Linked DNA regions of Homo sapiens: region 1 is linked to region 2. Evidence: promoter capture Hi-C in human tissues and cell types (Jung and others, 2019). All regions are on one chromosome and are shown on one strand. Each heading gives the region's core, a stretch centred on a gene start or on the middle of the fragment in contact. The rest is flanking DNA. Distances are from core to core; before and after follow the strand shown. Region 1 overlaps ANO5 (anoctamin 5). Region 2 holds the start of SLC6A5 (solute carrier family 6 member 5).

What was found. Contacts are between HindIII fragments. The study calls those that stand out against the background at their distance.
Region 1: a contact is called between a fragment that was not itself captured here and the fragment with the promoter of SLC6A5 in region 2, in 1 of the 25 tissues and cell types used here (dorsolateral prefrontal cortex).

The regions. Positions count from the first base shown.
Region 1 is chr11:22,240,048-22,243,327 of GRCh38, reverse strand. All of the region lies in intron 9 of ANO5 (anoctamin 5), which reads right to left. Among named protein-coding and RNA genes, the nearest start is that of ANO5, 49 kb to the right of the region's middle. The HindIII fragment of the contact is 4,063 bases long and covers 1-3,280 here.
Region 2 is chr11:20,597,896-20,601,317 of GRCh38, reverse strand. SLC6A5 (solute carrier family 6 member 5) reads right to left here and starts at 1,710. Exons shown (of 16, transcript NM_004211.5): 1 at 1,643-1,710; 2 at 1-189. The coding sequence starts at 1,645. The HindIII fragment of the contact is 4,309 bases long and covers 4-3,422 here.

The DNA.
Region 1 (3,280 bases), core at 458-2,957, 1.6 Mb before region 2:
AACAAAATACTAGAAAACCAAATCCAGGAGCACATCAAAAAGTTAATACATCCGATCAAACTGGCATTATTCCTGAGATGCAAGGCTGATTCAACAAGTGCAAATAAGTAAATGTGATTCACCACATAAATAGGATTAAGAGGAAAAACTATTAACATATGATCATCTCAATAAATGCAGAAAAAGCTTTTGATAAAATTCAGCATCCCTTTCCATTCATGATTAAAAAACCCTCAATAGTCTTGGTATTGAATGAACATACCTCAAAATAATAAGAGCCATCTATGATAAACCCACAACCAACATCATACTGAATGGGCAAAAGCTGGAATCATTCCCCTTGAGAAATGAAATAAAACAAAGATGCCCACTCTTACCACTCCTATTCAACATAGTGCTTAAGTCCTAGCCAGAGGAATCAGGCAAGAGAAAAAAAATAAAAGGCATCCAAATAGGACAAGAAGAAGTAAAGCTATCTCTCTTTGTTGCCAAATGATTCTACACCTAGAAAACCCTAAAGACTCCACCAAAAGTCTCCTAGATTTCATAAATGACAGATGAGAGAGTTCAGTAAAGTTTCAGGACCCAAAAGCAATGGACAAAAGTGAGTAGCTTTCTATATGGCAATAATGTTCAAGCTGAGAGTCAAATCAAGAACACAATCCCATTTTCAATAGCCACAAAAAATGAAATATCTAGGAATACAGCTAATCCAGGAGGTGAAAGATCTCTACAAGGAAAACTACAAAACACTGATGAAAGAAATCAGAGATGACACAAATAAATGGAACAACATTCCTTGTTCATGGATTGGAAGAATCAGTATCATTAAAATGGCCATACTGCCCAAAGCAATTTACAAATTCAATGTTATTCCTATCACACTACCAATGACATTTTTCACAGAATTAGAAAAAGCTATTCTAACATTAACATAGAACCATAAAAATGGCCAAATAGCCAAAGCAATCCTAACCAAAAAGAACACAACAAAGAACACAACTGGAAGCATCACACTACCTGGCTTCAAACTATGCTATAAGGCTATGGTAAGCAAAACAGCATGGTACTGGTAAGACACATAGACCAATGGAACTAAACAGAGAAAGCAGAAATGAAGCTGCACACCTCCCACCATCTGGTCTTCAACAAAGCTGATGAAAACAAGCAATGGGGAACGGATTCCGTATTCAATAAATGGTGCTGGGATAACTGACTAGCAATATACAGAAGAATAAAACTTGGACCCTTATCTTTCACCATATAGAAAAATAACTAAAGATGGAATAAAGTTTTAAATGTAAGACCTCAAACTATAAAAATCCTAGAAGAAAACCTAAGAAGTATCTTTCTCTACATCGGCCTGGGTAAATAATTTTTGGCTAAGTCACCAAAAGCAATTGCAACATCAAAAAATAATTGACAAGTGGGACCTAATTAAACTAAAGAGCTTCTGCACAGCAAAAGAAAGTATCAATAGAGTAGACAATCTACAGTATAGGGGAAAACATTCACAAACTACACATCCAACAAAGGTCTAATATCCAGAATCTATGAGGAACTCAAACAAGTCAACAAGCAGTATCCAAATAACCCCAATAAATAATTGGCAAAGGACATGAAGAGACACTTCTCAAAATACATACAAGCAGCCAACAAACATATGAAAAAATGCTCATCATCACTAATCCAGAGAAATGCAAATCAAAACCGCAATCAGATAACATCTCATACCAGTCAGAATGGCTATGATTAAAAAGTCAAGAAATATCAGATGGTGGTGAGATTTGGGAGAAAAGAGAACATTTATACACCGTTGATGGGAATGAAAATTAATTCAGCTGCTGTGGAAAACAGTTTGGAGCTTCTGCAAAGAACTTAAAACAGAGCTGCCATTTGACCCAACAATCTCATTACTGGGCATATGCTCAAAGCAATATAAATTGTTCTACCAAAAAGATGCACGCACCTATATGTCCATTGCAGCACTATTCACAATAGCAAAGACATGGTATCAACCTGGGTGACCATTAATGGTGGAGCAGATAAATAAAACGTGGTATATATAAACCACTTGTAAGTGGGAACTAAATATTGAATACACATAGACATAAGGATGACTACGATATACACTAGAGGAGGTAGTGTGGGAGAGGGGTGTGGGTTAAAAAACTCCCTATTTGTTACTATGCTCACTACTTGGGTGGCAGGATCTGCACCCCAAACCTCAGCATCGTGCAATATACCCACACAAAAAACATGCATGTATACCACTGAATCTAAAATTAAAAAGTTGAAATTATATAAAAAAATTGGGACAGCCTAATGTTTTTCAATAGAAAAACAAATAAATGAATTATGAAAAATTTATAATAAGGCATTCTGTGTTCCACTAAATAGTATCAGATAGATCTTTGTGTATTCATAGAAGGACATCAGTAATATACTATTTAGTGAATAAAGAAAAATATTAGCATGAAAGAGAAGAGAAAGATGCCATTGCTCTCAGAAAAAAAAATGTTTCTGCTTTTTTATGCAGGAACACAAAAATAGGACTAAATCAATATTATCCAAATCAAGCCTAGTTATTTTTGTGGAGTTTGATGAAGGTAGAATTTCACTTAAAACTTTGTTCATCTCTTAATTATTTGAAATGTTTTTGATAAATATTCTGGTTTTATAACTTAAAGTATTAAATGATTATTATTCAAAACAGTTAAAATAGCCATTCAAGAAAGAGTTTGCATGATTTATCAAAAGCCCCAGTTTATAAACTGACTAAGTGACATTAATTTTCCAAAATGTGTCCTCTAGTTTGACTTAAACATACTGTTGAGATAACATTTCAGTTGATTTGGATGGATCCATTCAAATCAGTCTCATGAAACAGATACTGTGATGCTGTGTAAGCATAGCAATGCAAGTATAAATCATCAAGGAAAAAACACTGCCTATAGTAGCAAGAGATCTCTAATCTAATAGTTCATTGAATAAAATCATATGTCTCCTAATATCTTGTATGCTTGTAGTATTGCTATGCTTTAAAGTGATAACCTGCAACCATAGTCTTCTTGCTTAGCTAATGAAACTATCTAAAGGATTGAGGTCATAGAACAAATGTCTTCACAGCTCACTGAGAGCACACACACACAAACATCCATACACAACCTTTGTCTTATGTTCCAAATTTCTGGACTCCAAGAGAAACAAAAACTAATATGTATTAAACACTAAGTGTTAGCCCCTATGCTAAAAAGTAGTAATATTGCTATTCCCGTTT
Region 2 (3,422 bases), core at 461-2,960:
TGACTGGAAAGTTTGGGCGCCGGTGGAAGCGGACCTGGGCACACGTGGCGGCGGCGGGGCGGCAGCCGCGGGAAGCTCCTGCTCCGGGCTCGTCCTGGGAGCGCATGGGCCATCCGGGTGGCCCTGCGCCGCCGCCGCCTCCGGGCTGTTGGCTGGCAGTTTATTCATTTCCTTGGGAGCACTGCAATCCTGCAAACACAATGTCAAGTTCGTGCAAAACAAAGTCACAACAGCTTTTAAAATACCTGTATCTAGATATGGAGACGTTCGCAACTCAGGTCCAGACACAATATCTGGGGAAGCAAATTGGAATCTGAACTTTTTTTAAAAGAAAGGCTGCAATCAGTATTTCTCAATTTGCCCGTTTCATCAATAACCAGATGACAAAAAGAAGCTAATATTCCCTCCCTAGTGGAGGATGAACTAAGAAAAGAGGTAGAAATGTAATTTTGTAAGGGTAAAGGGGGAATGGAAATAGCCCTGGAGTCATGAGCTCCCCTCCCTCTTTGGATTCCACATCACAGCTGTGGGTGCCCGCATCCCCATCACCACTGTAGAAAGATTCTTTAATTTTCCGCCCCATTTCCTTTGTCATTCAACAATGCACACTGCCTTTTTCCCCCATAGACAAGCTGTGGCCACAAAGCTGATGCCCTGGCACCTGCGAGCGCTTGAGGCCAAATTGGTTGAGTCCCAGCGCTCCACAACCCACCTCCTCCCGCCAGGTAGCAAAGACAAGGTTAAGAATCACGATCAAAATAACCACAAAAAAACCTACAACGATAATAAACTAAATTTAAGACACAGAGTAGTAACTAGATTTGTTATCTTACACAACTCGTATTCACTTCCAGATTCCCAGACATGGAAAAGAATATGCAAAGCTTTTTGTTCTTTTGTTTAGGTCTTCTTCTTCTTCTTCTTCTTCTTCTTCTTCTTCTTCTTCTTCTTCTTCTTCTTCTTCTTCTTCTTCTTCTTCTTCCTCTTCTTCTTTTTTGCGTAACTATTCACAGGAGTCTAATATCCTTCACAACTCTAAGCTTGCTTGAGTACCAAAACTCATGACTAATTTTTATTCGCTTTTTCCCAATTCACTTTCAAATGAAAAGAACTGCCAGCGGTGGTTTTTCTATCCACTTTCTCCCCTCGTGTTATCTTTCACGGCTTCCTAAACATTAGCACCAATAATTATTATTACACTGTAAGAATAATCCTATTATCTTCGCCTCCACCGCACTCCTCTCGTCTAACCCCCTTTCACAAACACGCAGAATAGAACTCCTCGATTTGCACAAATCTAGGTACCTCGGCTTCAGCCAGCATTTGTCTCAGTAGCCTCTAGGACCCAGAGCAACTCGCCTCTGTACCGGCATCTGGCTTTTCAGCACCGAGGACAGTGCCCGGGATCGGGTCTTTAGGAGCCACAGCCAACCTCTCAGCTCTACAGCCTAGGAAACCTCTTTGCGACCTCAGGTGACGCTCACAAGTACAAATACCTAGGGCTGCGAGAATTGTTCTCCTCGTCGCCCCCTTTCCCCCCACCCAATGCACAGACATCTCCAAAAGAAATAGCCAAAACGAATCTGCTTTCCCTGTCCCCTCAGCCCCCTTTCCTCTTGAAAGAACAAAAGCAAACACTCACCATGTCTGACACAGGCAACAGACTGAACTGGTGGAGGGTGAAACCCGCTATTGACAAGACTGGGTTTGGCTCAGGCAGGAGAGGCGCTTTCTATATCTCCTTGGGAAAGGCCGGGTTTGCGTCAGTGCAAAGCAAGGTGCCCTTGGTTTGACATTTTCTTGATAATACAAGTTTGATAAATCATTACCCCCTTGGATTCAAGTTTTAAAGGGACAACAGCCTAGAGTATGCTGGCCAGTTGTCACTCCAGCGGGAGGGGGCTGCGTGTTTGGCGTGACTCATGTGGTCTGATTACTAAACCGAAACCGGCAGGAGGGGAAGACAGAAGTTTGCCTCCTCCTAATTAAGGGAAACATGGGAGGGACACGTCCCACTGCACCCAAGGCAAGGCGCAGCCGCCAACAGAGTGGATCGGGCTGTAGAGGAGGAAGGAGGGGGTTAAATCACTGTCTATTCTTTCCCTTTCACTAGATTCCATTGCTGTCCCCCCTTATCTTCAGGGATTCCGAAAATATTACTCCGAAAGAGGTTGAGGGTCTGCGCATAGCCCCACAGCTCTGCGATGACTGAAGCAGGCATGGGTCCTGCATTTATCAAGGTGTACCTACCTAGCATGTATGTGGACTTCAGATTCTCACATCCCTACCCTTCCAGACAGTCAGTCTTGGAGGAATCCTGGGGTTTTTGCTTAAAAATTGTGATCTGGTATTTCCGTTCCTATTTCTGTTATCACAATCAAGAGAAAATTCTGAGTATAACTGACCTTTTTCATTGTATTTTTAAGCTTTTCTGAAGACGTTTTAGAGAAAGAAAAACGAAGTTTTTCCAACACAGACCTAGTTCTTAGGTCACTTTCAAAGTCAAGGGAAACCCATTCTTTCTTTACAGTCCTTTCAATAAAATCCTACAAGAGCCAGGCCTGATTTGGCAGCGCGGGACCTTAGAGACCGTCCAAATCGGGATGCCCAGCAATGCGGGGGAGGGGGAATGAGAGCTGGCAATCTGCAAAGCCATGCCAGGATGTTCAACCGTACTGTGGCGGGGATGGGAGTGGGGGTGGCCATGGCGATAAAAAGATGGACTTTCTTGTTGTGTGTACAATGCAATAGCTATAATCAGAAGAGGAAAAAACGCCTTTACAAAGAAGGTGTAGTTTGGAGACTAGAAGGGGATTATCAGCAAAATGCTTCCCTTCTCTCCTTCCTTGCCGGTCTAGCTCGGGGAACCCCTGGCCTCGGGGATGAGGAGCCACAGACAGCACGTTTTCCCTTCCCTACTGCCAACAGCCCAGCCCACTGCCTCGGGGTGCGCGCCGTCGCCAGCGGCTGGGCCGTCCCACGCGGCGGGAGGACAATGCCGCGGCGGCCGCGGCCGCAGGCGTAGGCTGCAGTGGCAGATTGCGGCGGGCGCCGGGGGCACTAAGGGGCACCCTCCTGCTCCTCTGGAGAGCCCGAGAGTGTTTGGATGCCTCCGCTGGTTGGCTTTCCCGCCTAGCCCCTCTAAAGGGCAGCTGGCTGGGGACACACGGTCTGCATTGCCTTTGGTGGGGGCAGGAGGAGGAGATCTTTCTTTTGAGACGCCTTGAGGATTTCAGGTCGCTTTTTATTGCAGTTTTGAGCTAACGTCTATTGAGATCTCAATACTCAACCATTGTGCAAGGGATATCCATGAATTATCTCGGTTAGATTTAGCAATGGCCTTTCAGAAACTATACCAATTGCAAAGCTGAGGAAATTGGGGCTCAGAAAGTCGCTTTTGAACCCTGGAGAAGATCCCAACC